Linked DNA regions of Homo sapiens: all the other regions are linked to region 1. Evidence: promoter capture Hi-C in human tissues and cell types (Jung and others, 2019). All regions are on one chromosome and are shown on one strand. Each heading gives the region's core, a stretch centred on a gene start or on the middle of the fragment in contact. The rest is flanking DNA. Distances are from core to core; before and after follow the strand shown.

What was found. Contacts are between HindIII fragments. The study calls those that stand out against the background at their distance.
Region 2: a fragment that was not itself captured here is called in contact with the fragment with the promoter of POU5F1B in region 1 in 1 of the 25 tissues and cell types used here (mesendoderm cells).
Region 3: a fragment that was not itself captured here is called in contact with the fragment with the promoter of POU5F1B in region 1 in 1 of the 25 tissues and cell types used here (mesendoderm cells).
Region 4: a fragment that was not itself captured here is called in contact with the fragment with the promoter of POU5F1B in region 1 in 1 of the 25 tissues and cell types used here (aorta).
Region 5: a contact is called between a fragment that was not itself captured here and the fragment with the promoter of POU5F1B in region 1, in 1 of the 25 tissues and cell types used here (liver).
Region 6: a fragment that was not itself captured here is called in contact with the fragment with the promoter of POU5F1B in region 1 in 2 of the 25 tissues and cell types used here (mesendoderm cells and spleen).

Annotation. Positions count from the first base shown.
Region 1 is chr8:127,414,556-127,417,167 of GRCh38, reverse strand. It overlaps POU5F1B (POU class 5 homeobox 1B), which reads right to left and starts at 1,301. Exons shown (of 1, transcript NM_001159542.3): 1 at 222-1,301. The coding sequence starts at 1,301. The coding sequence ends at 222. All of the region lies in intron 5 of CASC8 (cancer susceptibility 8), which reads left to right. The HindIII fragment of the contact is 11,415 bases long and covers 1-2,612 here.
Region 2 is chr8:127,654,883-127,657,494 of GRCh38, reverse strand. No RefSeq gene overlaps it. Among named protein-coding and RNA genes, the nearest start is that of CASC11, 78 kb to the left of the region's middle. The HindIII fragment of the contact is 8,143 bases long and covers 1-2,612 here.
Region 3 is chr8:127,208,195-127,210,806 of GRCh38, reverse strand. CCAT1 (colon cancer associated transcript 1) reads left to right here. Exons shown (of 2, transcript NR_108049.1): 2 at 1,090-2,612. Among named protein-coding and RNA genes, the nearest start is that of CCAT1, 9.8 kb to the left of the region's middle. RefSeq lists a cis regulatory region at 164-183, enhancers at 1-562, 719-838 and silencers at 1,759-1,898, 2,389-2,578. The HindIII fragment of the contact is 9,493 bases long and covers 1-2,612 here.
Region 4 is chr8:127,227,028-127,229,639 of GRCh38, reverse strand. No RefSeq gene overlaps it. Among named protein-coding and RNA genes, the nearest start is that of CCAT1, 9.1 kb to the right of the region's middle. The HindIII fragment of the contact is 3,791 bases long and covers 1-2,612 here.
Region 5 is chr8:127,583,189-127,585,800 of GRCh38, reverse strand. No RefSeq gene overlaps it. Among named protein-coding and RNA genes, the nearest start is that of CASC8, 100 kb to the right of the region's middle. The HindIII fragment of the contact is 7,724 bases long and covers 1-2,612 here.
Region 6 is chr8:127,555,665-127,558,276 of GRCh38, reverse strand. No RefSeq gene overlaps it. Among named protein-coding and RNA genes, the nearest start is that of CASC8, 75 kb to the right of the region's middle. The HindIII fragment of the contact is 4,006 bases long and covers 1-2,612 here.

The DNA of each region.
Region 1 (2,612 bases), core at 52-2,551:
AAAAAAGTGATACATGATGTGGGATTAAAATCAAGAGCATCATTGAACTTCACCTTCCCTCCAACCAGTTGCCCCAAACTCCCCTGCCCCCACCCTTAGTGTTCCCAATTCCTTCCTTAGTGAATGAAGAACTTAATCCCAAAAGCCCTGCCACAAACTCCAGGTTCTCTTTCCCTAGCTCCTCCCCTCCCCTGTTCCCCATTCCTAGAAGGGCAGGCACCTCAGTTTGAATGCATGGGAGAGCCCAGAGTGATGACGGAGACTGGGGGAAAGACTTCCCCCTCAGGGAAAGGGACTGAGGAGTACAGTGCAGTGAAGTGAGGGCTCCCATAGCCTGGGGTACCAAAATGGGGCCCTGGGGCCGGAGGAAAGGACACTGGTCCCCCTGAGAAAGGAGACCCAGCAGCCTCAAAATCCTCTCGTTGTGCATAGTCGCTGCTTGATCGCTTGCCCTTCTGGCGCCGGTTACAGAACCACACTCGGACCACATCCTTCTCGAGCCCAAGCTGCTGGGCGATGTGGCTGATCTGCAGTGTGGGTTTCGGGCACTGCAGGAACAAATTCTCCAGGTTGCCTCTCACTCGGTTCTCGATACTGGTTCGCTTTCTCTTTCGGGCCTGCATGAGGGTTTCTGCTTTGCATATCTCCTGAAGATTTTCATTGTTGTCAGCTTCCTCCACCCACTTCTGCAGCAAGGGCCGCAGCTTACACATGTTCTTGAAGCTAAGCTGCAGAGCCTCAAAGCGGCAGATGGTCTTTTGGCTGAACACCTTCCCAAATAGAACCCCCAGGATGAGCCCCACATCGGCCTGTGTATATCCCAGGGTGATCCTCTTCTGCTTCAGGAGCTTGGCAAATTGCTCGAGTTCTTTCTGCAGAGCTTTGATGTCCTGGGACTTCTCCGGGTTTTGCTCTAGCTTCTCCTTCTCCAGCTTCACGGCACCAGGGGGGACGGTGCAGGGTTCCGGGGAGGCCCCATTGGAGTTGCTCTCCACCCCGACTCCTGCTTCGCTCTCAGGCTGAGAGGTCTCCAAGCCGCCTTGGGGCACTAGCCCCACTCCAACCTGAGGCCCACAGTACGCCATCCCCCCACATAACTCATACGGCGGGGGGCAAGGGGGAATCCCCCACACCTCAGAGCCTGGCCCAACCCCCGGCCCGATTCCTGGCCCTCCAGGAGGGCCTTGGAAGCTTAGCCAGGTCAGAGGATCAACCCAGCCCGGCTCCGCCCCCCATGGCCCATCACCCCCACCGCCTGGAGGGGGCGAGAAGGCGAAATCCGAAGCCAGGTGTCCCGCCATGGGGAAGGAAGGCGCCCCAAGCCGGGGGCCTGGTGAAATGAGCAATTATGTTACTTTTCATTGAAAGCTCTGTGACCGTATGGCTGTGTGTGTCATACGCTCACTAGCAATGAACACAGTGCCTGAAGCATCATTAAATGTTGACTGAATGTGTTAGGAACTCTTCAAAAGTAATCTCTTTAAATCATAATCACCTGTGAATTGACAATTATTATCTTCACTTTGTGGATAAGAATGCCAAGATTTGGAAATGTTGAATAATGTGTCCATTGTGTCAGTGGCCGATCTGAAATTCCAGTGTAGGCACCATGATTCCTGAGTCCATTCTGCTTCTGCCATACCATGATGCTAGATTCTTCATGGGAGCCATCTACTTGTGTTCTGTGCTATGGAATGGTGTGTCCTTCTTTCTGATTCTTATTTCCTGCAGATTGTGGGGAAACGGTTCTACCATTAACAACCAAAGGCAAAATGGGCTGCAACCAAAGAAATTCCCTGACCTAATTCTTTATAGTTGGTGACAAGTGTGCTGTAGTGACGGGAAATAGCACTCTATGAAGATTTAATAGTGCAAATTCTACCCTCCTGACAACCCCTTTCTTCAGCACTGGATGGGTGTATTAGTTGTTTATCATTGTGTAATAGATCACCTCAAAACTTAATAGCTTAAAAACAACTAACACATAGCTCACAGTTTTGTAAAATAGCAATTGTGGTGTGGCTTAACTGGGTATCCTGGATAAGGGTATTTCATGAGGTTGTGGTCAAGATGAGAGCAGGGGATGTTGTCATCTGGGAGCCTAACGGGGGCTGGAGGATCCACTTTCCAAAATGTCTCACTTACTTGGCTGTTGGCAAAGGCCCCGGTTTCTTGTTGGCTGTTGGTAGGAGGCCTCAGTTGCTCACCATGTGGGCTTTTCCATAAAGCTGCTTGAGTGTCCTCACAACATGTCAGCTGGATTCACCCAGAGAGAATGACCTAAGAAAGAGAGAGCAGGGAAGAAGCCACTGCGTTCTTTATGACCTAGTCTCTGAAATCGCACACTTTTACTTGTGCCATATTTTATTCATTAGAAGTGAGTCACATTCTGTAGGAGGGTAATTAGCCTTCACCATTTGGCAGGAGGACTATCAAATAATTGGTGGGCATATTGTAAAGCTATCATAATGGTTCTGGTAGGCCATGTTTTTGCCTCTGCCACTCAAATATTGGATGTCCATTTCTTAAAGGGATTGTGAAAAGAGAAGGGGCTTTAGAATAAGACAGGCAAATGTTTAAACATTGAGTAAATTTTTAATGTCCTTAACCCT
Region 2 (2,612 bases), core at 54-2,553, 240 kb before region 1:
ATGTATTCATCTCTTGTCATACCAGTTACTGGCACTGTTTTTAAGCTCGTGTGTGTGTGTGTGTGTGTGTGTGTGTGTGTGTGTGTGTGTATTGTGTGTTATTTTCTAAGTAAGTAATTAAATTTTTAGAATCATACAGCTCTCTGTGTAGAACAGCTTTGTGCAAATACTTTGAATTTTATTCCAGTTTATAGCACATCAATTTGTTTTCAGCATTTTCTCAGTCTACTTTCCATCTGCCTGAACTCTGGTAGACTGAAGTCCAGTTTTGGGTGATAAAGTGATTAGCAGCATTTGTCTGCTCTTAGAGCACTTGGGATTCAAGTCTCCCCTATATCTCTTCTTCTGTATCTCATTGCTTTTGTTTTTTTTCCCCCATCTTGACACTTTTTCAGTATATCAGGAATCTTTCTTCATATATATATGTTTTTTAAGACAGAGTTTCACTCTTGTTGCCCAGGCTGGAGTGCAATGGCGTGATCTCGGCTCACCACAACCTCCACCTCCCAGGTTCAAGCAATTCTCCTGCCTCAGCCTCCCGAGTAGCTGGGATTACAGGCACCCACCACCACTCTCAGCTAATTTTGTATTTTTAGTAGAGACGGGGTTTCTCCATGTTGGTCAGGCTGGTCTTGAACTCCCTACCTCAGGTGATCTGCCCACCTCGGCCTCCCAAAGTGCTGGGATTACAGTGTTGAGCCACCATGCCCGGCCGCATCTTTCTTTTTAAATCAACTTTACTGAGGTATAATGGACACACAGTAAGCTGATGTATTTAAAGTATACGATTTGGTGTTTTTACATATGTATACATCCACAAATCCATCCCCACAATCAAGATAATGAACATATCTATCACCCCCAAAAGCATCCTGTGTCCCTTTGTAGTGACTTCTGTTGTTGCACCCTTTCCCCACCATATGTTAGTTTACATTTTGTAAAATCTTATATAAATGGAAGCATACAGAGTGAACTCTTTTTGTCTGGCTCTTTTACTTATTTCTGAGTTGGTATTTCATTGTACGGATATACCACAATACATTTATTCATTCGCCCAGGGATAGACATGTGGTTGCTTTTAGCTTTTGAATATGACAAATAAAGTGTCTATAAGCATTCACGTAGAAGTCTTTGCATGGACATATGTTTCCTTTTTTAAAAAAATTATTTATTTATTTTTTAAGATGGAGTCTTGCTCTTATCACCCAGGCTGAAGTGCAGTGGCATGATCTCAGCTTACTGCAACCTCCGCCTCCAGGGGTTTCAGTGACTTTCCTGTCTCAGCCTCTTGAGTAGCTGAGATTACTGATGTGCACCACCATGCCCAGCTAATTTTTGTATTTTTAGTAGAGACGGGGTTTCATCATGTTAGCCACGGTGGTCTCAAACTCCTGACAGGTGATCCACCTGCCTAGGCCTCCCAAAGTGCTGGTATTACAGGTATGAGCCACCATGTCTGGCCCTGTTTTCAGTTTTTTTTTTTGTTTGTAAATATCTAGAAGAATGGCTGGATGATGAGGTAGGTATGTATTTAACTTTTAAAGAAGCTGCCAAACTGTTTTCCAAAGTGATGGTGCCGTTTTAACATTCCCAGCAGCAGCATATGAAAGGTCTAATTGCTTCACATCTTTGCCAACACTTTGTGTGGTCAGACTTTTTAATTTTAGCTTTCCTAATACATGTGTAGCGGCATCTCACTGTGTTAGCGTACATTTCCTAATGATTAATGATGTTGATCTTTTTTTTTTTTTTTTTTTTCTGAGACAGTCTTACTCTGTCATGAGGCTGGAGTGCAGTGGTACAGTCTTGACTCACTGTGACCTTGACCTCCCAGGCTCAGGAGATCCTGCTACCTTAACCTCTTGTGTAGCTGAGACTACAGGCACGTGCCATCATGCCTGTAGTATTTTTTGTATTTTTCGTAGAGACGAGGTTTTGTCATGTTGCCCAAGCTAGTCTCAAACTCCTGAGCTTAAGCAATTTGCCCACCTTGGCCTCCCAAAGTGCTGAGATTACAGGTGTGAGTCACTGCACCTGGCCTAGCATATTTTATGTGCTTATGTGCCATCCACATATCTTCTTTGTTGGAGTATCTGTTTAAATCATGTTTAAATCTTTTGCCAATTTCTTATTGAGTTTTTAATTTTCTTATTGTTGAGTTTTGAGGATTCTTCATATATTCTAGATATAAATTCTTTTTCAGATATGTCACTTATAAGGACTTTCTTTCAGTCTGTGCTTGTATCTTTTGATAAGTGGATTTTTTTTTCTTCAGACAGAATATTGCTGTGTTGCCCAGGCTGGAGTGCAGTGGTTTGATCTCAGCTCACTGCAACCTCCGCCTCCTGGGTCCAAGTGATTCTTGTGCCTCAGCCTCCTGACTAGCTGAGACTACAGGCATGCATAGGCATACCCAGCTAATGTTTGCATTTTTAGTAGAGACAGAGTTTTGCCATGTTGGCCAGGCTGGTCTTAAACTCCTGGTCTGAAGTGATCCACCTGACTGGCCTCCTAAAGTGCTGGGATTACAGGCCTGAGCCACTGTGCCCAGAAGAAGTGCTAATTTTGATGAAGTTCCATTTATCATTCTATTTTTTTAATGCTTTTGCATC
Region 3 (2,612 bases), core at 68-2,567, 210 kb after region 1:
CATTTATAGTAAACTCTTCAAAAGTGGGTGTGGGAAGGAACTCTGTGTTTTCCACAGCTATAGACTTGGCTACAATGCAGATTTTATGTTCATGCTGGTTAGTTGAGGCGGCATGTGTGATACAGAAAGAGAATTATCCTCTGCTGTCAGAGACCTGCAGCCTGGTCCCTGGAGCTGACCTTTGGACCAGAAGAGGATGCCTGAACACCTTTGGGCCTTAGTTGTCCGGTTCCAAAACTGACATCATAACCCATCACCTGCTACTAGTCAGACACTGACTCAGATGTCCTCTTGACCTTCTTTCCAGCTCCTAACTCTGGAATTCCATGATTCATCAATAACATCTGATCAGATTTCAGCAGCGAGGGTCTTGCTCACTTGCCATTCAGAATTAATGAAATGCAGTGATGCAGCCAACACGAACAAAAGGAGAGCCCCTCTCTCCCTTAGGAAACTCACGCAGATCACATGACCCTACCTGGTGATCTGTGAGAACTATATCCCCATGTGAGATGGTACCTACCATTTCCTCCCTCTCCCCCAACCCTTATTTCCTCCAGTGCCTTTGTTTTTTTGTGTGGTAAATGCCTTGTAATGTGCACCATTCTATGTACTGTTTGAAGAAATCTGATATCTGTGGGAAGGAAACAAAACTCTATTTGCTATGCTTCAGTCACCAAAAAAAGGTACTAAAATAGCTAAAAATGTCAGTTCACAAGTAGAAATATTCAAATAGATATTTTTCTTTTAGATCATAGTTCTGGTTTCTGTTTTCAATGGGGATTTCATGGGGGAAAATATTTCACCTTGAGAGCTGGACATTTTAAGACACAAAATGTGAGGACGCCCACATATCTCTTCATTGTTGTCATAATTTCCCAGCTAGGTTCAGAATGCAAAGGTGATTTTTTGAACGTGTCATGTGCAGGTTATTCCTTTCTAAGTACAGGATGTAGTGAGTAAGAAAGCTGATTCTAACTAACCTTCTTAGAGAGAAGGAAAAAGAAAGCTAATAACTCTTCTATTTGACTGTTTAAATTTTCCTTTTCTAGATAAATATGTTCTGATAGGTGATTTTCTTGTCCACAGCTCTGTATGGCTAAGCGTTTTCTCCTAAAATCCCTTGAAAACTGTGAGAAGACCATAAGAAGATCATATCTTTAATTCTATTTCACAAGTCACACAATATTCCAATCAAATACAGATGGTTGAGAAAAGTCATCCATCTTCCCTCCCCACCCTCCCACAGCCCCTCAACCACTGCCCTGAAACTTATATGCTGTTATCCGCAGCTCCATCTGGAGCATCACAGCTACTGTCAACCCTGACGCTCTTTCTGAAAAAACACCGGATGGACATCAGAACTATTTCTTTAAGGATGTTACTGAGCCACACAGGAAAACTTGCCTTATGATTTTGAATGCACGGATCTGATTTGACTAAACATGATAACTAGAGAATCACCCAATCTACTCCCATTTTCAACTCTAAATCATCAGAGTGTCTCAAATCCAAAGCACACACAGACCAGCCTGGCCAACACGGTGAAACTCCACCCCTACTAAAAGTATAAAAATTATCCAGGTGTGGTGGCGGGCGCCTGTAATCCAAGCTACTTGGGAGTCTGGAGGCAGGAGAATCCCTTGAACCTGGGAGATGGAGGTTGCAGTGAGCAGAGATCACACCACCGCACTCTAGCCTGGGCCACAAATCAACAACAACAACAACAACAAAAAACAAAGCGCACACAGAGACTGAGGTCCTCTTTGGCATTGAGAAGATGGCTATGCAAGTCCCAACTAGCAAGTGCAAACTTCCCAGCTTCACTTCTGCCAGTGTCCCTTCACCCCTTCTCAACCCCACTGGGAGGCAGGAGGGTGCTTGACAATAACAGCCTTGGCATCACTCTGCCAGGGTGTAATAGGAACTGTTACAATTCTGAGATTCTGTGTAAGCACTGGCCTTTCTGCCTAGAATGCCTTCTCCTCTCTTTTTTAACTGCATGCTCCTATTTATCTTTCAAAGCCCGGAAAAAATAACACTGCACACGGGAAATGCTCCCTTCCTACTGCAGTCATTTAGATGACTCTATGCCATTCCATTCATTTCTCTTTCCTACCACAGAAGTGCTTTGAGATTTTGGAGTCAGACTGCTTGAACTTGAATCCTGGCCCTCTCATCAGAGACTTGACTTATTTTAGGCAAGTTATATAACCAATTTTACCTCAGTTCCTTACCCATAAAATGGGTCTAATGAGAGTACCTACCACACAGAATTTTGATGAAAACTGAATGAGATGAAGGCCTTTAAGGCAGTGGTCCCCAACCCTGGGGACACAGACAGGTACCATTTTGTGGCCTGTTAGGAACTGGGCCACACAGCAGGAGGTGAGCAGTGGGTGAGTGAGATCAGCGTTATTTACAGCTGCTCCCCATTGCTCACCTTACTGCCTGAGCTCCACCTCCTGTCAGATCAGCAGTGGCATTAAATTCTCATAGCAGCACAAACCCTGTCATGAACTGCACATGCGAGGGATCTAGGTTGTGCGCTCCTTATGAGAATCTAATGCCTAATGACCTGTCACCGTCTCCCATCACCCCTAGATGGGAGT
Region 4 (2,612 bases), core at 52-2,551, 190 kb after region 1:
GATTTTAAAATCATGTATATCTGACTTACCCTTTGGCTTGGAGAAACAGACACAGGTCAATTATAGATTATTCATTTGTTATTTTAATTAAATTATATGGACTGTGGCTTGCTAATGCTCAAGACAGAAAATGAAAGTGTTTTCTGCCCTTTTCCCTACACTAAGGGATTATTGAGATAATGACCTAATAGTCTGGGTTGTGTATATGTCAGAAAAACTTCATTTTATTAATAAGTGATACTACAGATACTGCCCATTTATTATATTGATAGCAGCTGTGGATATGAGAAGAGTGGACCTATATATGTCCATATATAGGTATAACCAATATATATGTATAACATATATATGTCCATATATATGTATAACCAAACCACAGGTGTTTTTTTGGAAGTCATATTATACAGGGAGTTGACAGAGGTGTGAGCTGGACTTTAAGAAGCTGCACATAAGATGCTAGTATGATCAAGCTGGAATGGACTTAGACAATTTGAAACAACTTTTCTCAGTTTTCAGATGAGGAAACTGACGGGTACCAAGCTTAAATGACTTGACGAAGCTCATAGAAGATTAGCAGGTAGTAGAATAATGACTGCTGACTCCTAATTCAGTGGATCTTCCCTGGCCACCGTTTTGTATTGAGCTGCAATGCTTCCTTGACTGTTCTCCATGCCAGATTCTTATCAATGATCTTTCACCTAAGAAACAGCAAAGATTCTGGCAAGCACACGATCTAGAGATACATCTTATTGCGATTTTTCACAAAAATCAAAAGAAGAAAGAAGGCTTAGCTGGTGTTTAATTATTGTTATTTTTTTCAATAGGGAAATCTGTACACAATGATTTATCTCCAGTGATTTGCCATTGATCAATTTTTTTCTCATTTCATTTTCTATTTTTTTGTTTTTTGTTTTTCTTTATTTTTTATTTTTTTCTCCTTTTTCTTTTTTTAAATTTTCTGTTTATCACAAATGATCATGTAATTATATGTTAATACTATGTAACCCCAGTGTTTTCAACTGTTTGTGATTCAATGTTACCCAGTTTTCTTTTCTTAATTTTAAATAAATTTGAAAAATTATCTTAGAGTGTTTTGAGCCTGTGTTGGTACATTTAGTTCTAGTTCATTGTGGTAAATCCACTTCAGTTTCTAAGTTTCCACCCTTTAGTAAAGACATATTTCTAAATTTGGTTTATATCCTCAGTTACAAAAGATTCTAACTGCTAGTTTTGTGACAGCAATCACACATACCATCAAGGGATGGGGCAGGCAGTTTTGGAATGTGCTGATGCTAGCATTTTTATAAGCCTATGGCTTTTATAGTCTAAATTGTTCTTATTTCTATTAATGCTTCAATTTTTGACAAACACACAACCATAGAAACAAATAATAAATTTGTTTTTTGGGAATTATCCAGGATTCTTGGTTAAGTGGGGAATTTAGGCTTTGACAGCATAAAGGATCACGGATAAGTATTTTTCACGGTGGCTCTAATTATAATGCTGAGCATGTGGCAGGCACAGAAATATTTACTCATTGACTGAATATAGCACATCGTAATGTTGATTTTTTTCCAACATAATTTTAGAGCTAGGCATATTGTATTCTATTACACTAGACTATATATCATTCTTAAATAGAACCAGCCTTGCTAGATAACACATGTTGGAGGAGAGGCCCTTCTTCTTAGCCCTCAGTGTTTCCATCTATGGGGAAGAAGTTCCACCATACTAACATTACTATCGTCTCTCCACCTGCTCACTCACTTCTCCCCAAGGGAGGGGTGTTCGATATGGTTTCTGAGCTTGGAAAGAAAACTCAGGCATGTGTAACATGGTTCCTTCAGTCCCATGACCCACTGTCCACAAATGGGCTGCTCACAGAGTGCATGCCTTCACCCTTGTTCCTGGCCATGCAGGAAATTGTATGAAACAGTCCTAGCTGAAGCCTGAGATTTTCCTGCATTGCCTAGTCCTGGTGGGTATCTGTCTACTCCTGGAGTTTGGATTGGAAAGTCCACATGCCTGAAGGTATAAACCTATTCTACAAAGGGGTGTTTTCTAGAATGAAGGTAATATTTTTATCTTACATTTGCAGAAAGAGACAGAACAATGTTATAGGTGAGTGCATGGACAATGACCTCAAACAGCTAAGATTCAAACCCCTGCGTTGAATGATTGAATTGAAATGATTCAATGAGCTAATGTACATAAAGCATCCAGAATGTTGCCTGGCACAAGGTAAATGCTCTACAAATGTCTGATATTAATGTTAGCCTTTTGTTTCCCCGTTCAGTTGGTTCAGAACGTAGACATTATGTACTGGCTCTGCCTCACACCTCAATAACAGAGATTTCTTAAAGAATAACTTATAAACTCTTTTCAACTTCAAATCACTCCGTGATTAGGCTTATCTTATACCTTACTAGTTCTTAGCACCAGAATTATTTTTCCAATTGTAGAACTAATCATGTTTCTCTGAAATTCTTAATTCGTGCAGACCTCTCAGTGGGGCTTCAAACTCTCACAGTCAGACCTCAGCATACGTTTCCAGCCTTGTCTTCCTTACACACTGTGCTTTGGCACGAGTCTACCATTGCTCACGGTTCCTG
Region 5 (2,612 bases), core at 76-2,575, 170 kb before region 1:
CTGTTGCCCAGGCTGGAGTGCAGTGGTGCAATTTTGGCTCACTGCAACCTCTGCCTCCCAGATTCAAGCAATTCTCTGCCTCAGCCTCCAGAGTAGCTGGGCTTACAGGCAGCCACCACCACGCCTGGCTAATTTTTGGATTTTTAGTAGAGTCAGGGTTTCACCATCTTGGCCAGGCTGGTCTTGAACTCCTGACCTCGTGATCCTCCTGCCTCGGACTCACAAGATGCCGGGATTACAGGTGTGAGCCACTGCACCCGGCCAAGATCTCTGCCTTCATGAAATTTCCATCCTAGTAGTGGAGACAGACAATAAATAAGTGAACAGACAGATACAAAGGTAATTGTAGCTAGTGATGGGTGCCATTGTCCCAATAAAAGGGAATGTAAAAGAATGACTGTATTGTGTGTGTGTGTGTGTGTGTGTTTTATGTGCGTGTGTGTGTAATAGATTGTGCTTTACTGGGTGGCTAGAGAAGGTATTTCTGAGACAATAACCTCTGAGGTGTGACCTGAGTGATCAGAAGGACCAGAAAGGACAAAGGCCTGGAGGTTGGAAGTAGCTTGGTGCACTCAGGAGCAGAGAGAAGCTCAGTGTGGCTGGTGTAGTGAGCAGAGGGACAGAGCACTAGGCAATGAGAGCAGGTAGGGACCAGATCCTACGGGTCCTTGTTGGTCCTGGTAAGGTGGCTGGGTATTATGTGAAGGGCATTGGAACCTACTATCCAATTGCATTGGAGAAGCTGTAGCAAGGAGATGATTTTTGGTTGGGAGGTTGGACTGGTTTCAACTCTGGCATCAGAATCACCTAGGGATCCACATTTGGGATCCAGTGGTCTAAGTGAACTCTAAAATTGCTTTCATGGTGAGGATTTGAGGTAGTGATATGAGCTTCCATATGAGATGATACATTTTGCTCAGGATATCTGAGAATGCATGGCCCACTGGAATTTTGCTAACGTATTATCTACAACCCAGTTCATTAGGGTGGGTGGGCTCTAAATAAGCTTAATTTACTTCAACAATTATTCAGTGGATTATCTTCTATGTGGCAGGCACTAAGTATGCACAAGGGGTAAAGTACCGTGCCTGGAAAACAACAGATACGCCATAAATATTGACTGAATGAATAAATGGATGAAAGTACCAGACATTCTGCTGGGAACCAGGGACAAAGAGATGAGGAAAAGATGTGTGAGAGACATTATAGATGACTCTGTCTTTATTAGCTCATGTGATATGGTTTGGCTGTGTCCCCAACCAAATGTCATCTTGAATTGTAGTTCCCATAATCCTCAAGTGTCATAGGAGGGATTCAGTGGGAGGTAATTGAATCTTGGGGACAGTTACCCCCATGCTGCTGTTCTCATGATAGTGAGTGAATTCTCACGAGATCTGATGGTTTTATAAGGGGCTTTTCCCCCTTTGCTTGGCATTTCTCTCTCCTGACATCACGTAAAGAAGAATGTGTTTGCTTCCCCTTCTGCCACCATTGTAAGTTTCCTGAGGCCTCCCCAGTTCTGTGAAACCGTGTCAATTAAATCTCTTTCTTTTATAAATTGCCCAGTCTTGGGCAGTTCTTTATAACAACGTGAGAATGGAATAATACATCGGGGAGGAGAATTGCAATAGCAGTGTTTGCAAACTGCTAATGGAAGGGTAAAAAGATGGAAAATGTAAGGGAAAGGCATATGTGTTTGAGTTTGGAAGAAGAATACCACAGGGTGTTCCTGCAAAAGGCAAAATGCAGAGACAATGCTGGGAGCATTTGTAAAATCTGAATTCTTCACTTCCAGTCTGTTGGGTTCTGGCTTCCGGTGTCACAGGGGAGTCTGCTTTTGATTTTATAGGGACAACAGAGAAAACATTGGCTGGTCAGGAACAGGAACTTTAAGGCTGCTCAGGAAGATCAAGCAGCTTGGACACATGGCCTTCTGGTTTTCTCCTTTGATCAGGGAAAACAGGGAGGATTCTGCCAAAAAGCTCACCAGAACTTTCACGTCTACCAGCTTTTGTAGCCTGCCAAATCTCTGTGTGCTGCAGTTTGTGTTAACCTAGTCAAATTACCATCAAGTAGCCCGAAGCCACAGCCAAATCGGCCTCACCGTTTTTCCTCACCCTAATTTAATCATCTGGGAGTGGATTTCTGGAATTGCCTCTAATCTAGCGAACACATATCTAAGACTCTAAACTAAACAATTAACCCTTTCCTGGGACCAACAAACCTTTGGTAGAAGGTACACTTTTGGTGTCTGCAATTTGATTTAAACTTTTTGTAACTTCTGGGAGGAGGGGAAGGAGAAGGAATTTGAGTCTTCCTTATTATGGTGCAGAGACTGCTAGATGTTAATATTCATGACTTCTGCACACCAGTTCTGTGAGATAAGTATTATTAACTCCATTCTAAGCACAGGAACACAGAGCTTCAGAAGGATTAAGGAACGTGGTCAGGGCCACACAGCTTAATAAGTGGCAAGATTTGATTCCAAGCCTATCACCAAGACCCAGGCTTTCCCCCATAAAACTCTTTCTGCTCCAGAACTGTTTAGTAAGCAATAGCTACATTTTATACATCTTGAAAATTTCCAGTGCTTAGAAATGGAGCAATGCCAT
Region 6 (2,612 bases), core at 79-2,578, 140 kb before region 1:
AGTCAGATAGAAAGTGACATACATAACAATGGCAACAGAGGGACAAGAGAAGTCATGAGATATATTAGGGTTCCCTAGAGGGACAGAAATAATAGAATATAAATATATATATATGGGAGTTTATTAAGTATTAACTCACACAATCACAAAGTTCCACAATAGGCTGTCTGCAAGCTTGAGGAGCAAGGAGAGCCAGTCCATGTCTCAAAAATGAAGAACTTGGAGTCCGATGTTTGAGGGCAGGAAGCATCCAGCATGGGAGAAAGATGTAGGCTGAGAGGCTAGGCCAGTCTCACCTTTTCACATTTTTCTGCTTGCTTTATATTCACCAGCAGCTGATTAGATTGTGCCCACTAGGTTAAGGGTGGGTCTGCCTTCCCCAGCCCACTGACTCAAATGTTAGTCTCCTTTGGCAACACCCTCACAGGCACACCCAGGATCAGTACTTTGCATCCTTGAACCCAATCAAGTTGACACTCAGTATTAACCATCACAGGAGATGCTACACTGTTGGTTTTGAAGACAGAGAAAGGTGCTACAATCTAAGGAATGCAGGTGGCCTCTAGGAACTGGAAAGGCAAGGAAATAAAATAGATTATTTCTTAGAGTCTCTAGAAGGAATAAAGCCCTGCTGACATCTCATCTTGACTTTAGCCCAGTGAAACCCATTTGGACTTCTGACTTCTAAAACTGTGGTATAATAAATTTATGTCGCTGTAAGCAACTAAATTTATGATGATTTGTTACAGCAGTAATAGAAAACAAGTACAATAATCTACCTAAGAAAAATCTACGTAGCATTTGGTGGTCATGGAAAACGAATTAAATCCTGGTTCTGTCTCTTACTAACTGTGGGACCAAAGACAGGTTATTTGATCTCTATAGTACTAGTTTTTTCCAACTATAAAATGAGGAAAAGAGAACCTATTACATCTCAGATAAAATTGGGCTACTCTGGTTTCCTCCCACCACATGTTACAGTTGAAAGACCCAGCCACCTGCATGACCAGTCATCTCAGAAATACTATAGGGAATTTCATTCTTAACACGCAGCACATTTTTTCAAAATGTCTTTACTAATTTCTTTCTTTGTTTCTGTCATTTTTCTTTCTTTCTCCCCTCTCTCTCTCTGTCTCTCTCTCTGTCTCTCTCTCTGTCTCTCTCTCTCTCTCTCTCTCTGTGTGTGTGTGTGTTTGTGTTTAATAGGATGTTAAAAATGAGACCATTTCTGTCTCTCTGACTTCAGCAAGAAAAATCAATAAAGAAAGAACCTCTGTCTTCCAAGGGAAGTGCTACCCCATCTTGACGGGCCTTGCAATGGGAAGGCTGAAAATCAGAATATTGGGTCATCACCTACCTTTAGAGAGTCAAACTAGAGCCCACAGGCTGAATCCTGCCTGCTATCTGTTTTCATAAATAAAGTTATATTGGAACACAGCCACACCCATTTGCTTAAGCATAGCCCATTGCTCTTTTCTTTTTTAAAAACAATGCAGAGTTGAGAATTGCTACTGAGACTGTTTTGCCTGCAAAGCTTAAATAATTTACTATCAGGCCTTTTACAGAAAAGCTTTGCTGACTACTGCTTTAGGATTTAAAATAGCTGATCTAACAAGACGATGTGTGGGGCCGGGTTGTGGAGTTCTGTAGAAATTTCCTTCCCACCCCCTGCATGGTGAGAGTGGCTTCAAGGACCACTTAAAGAGTTTGATATTCACCCCCTAGGGTTTAGGGAACCCAGTGGACAGTTATTTGACTTTTCCTGAGAAATCTGAATAGCAACTCTGTGGCTTCTTCATTGGGGCTGCATAGAAGAGAGAAAGGACTGACATTTGCGGTGAATATTTCCATCAATTGTGGTACTAAAATTTGCTGGGGTCTCTCTCATGAGCAGAAATGAGATGAAGCTCATGTGGTCTTCCCAGAGGTTAAATGGGACACCAAAAAGAAAGTGTCTCTATGAAGTGGACCACCAAATGCCAAGGTTGAGGGTTGATGTTAGAGGCAATCCCAGGAGAAAAAACAGTGACTATGAGAAAATAAGTTAAAGTTCCTGGTGGGGAATCTCTGAGAAAAGTTTCAAAGCACCTCTTGGAAGAAACAGTCAGCCTTTACTACCTCCAGTTCTGGAGAGCACCAAAGCTGGATAGTGACAGTACCAATTGACCAGGTGTCCACATTCTCCTCTAATTCCTCTTTCCATAAGCCTAACTCTGGAATAGTCAGGATCCAAGTCTGGCTCTTTAGGGGGAGATAAAGCAGAAAGGCAAGTTGGGCCACAAAATAGAGCAAATATCCACAGCATCTTACAGGATCCGAGGTCTGCATCTTCCCTGAGCCTGGGAGAGGTGAGAAGTTCCAACTCTGAATGAAGCCCAAAGAAGAATCATTGTCTTGACTTAGGCACAATAATTTTTTTTTTTCATTTCATTGTGCATTGAATGAATATGTTCATTTTCTTTTATTTATTTTATTTTTTTGATATATTTCATGTTCTAGGGTACATGTGTACAACGCGCAGGTTTGTTACTTATGTATGCATGCGCCATGTTGGTGTGCTGCACCCATTAACTCGTCATTTACATTAGGCATATCTCTTAATGTTATCTCCC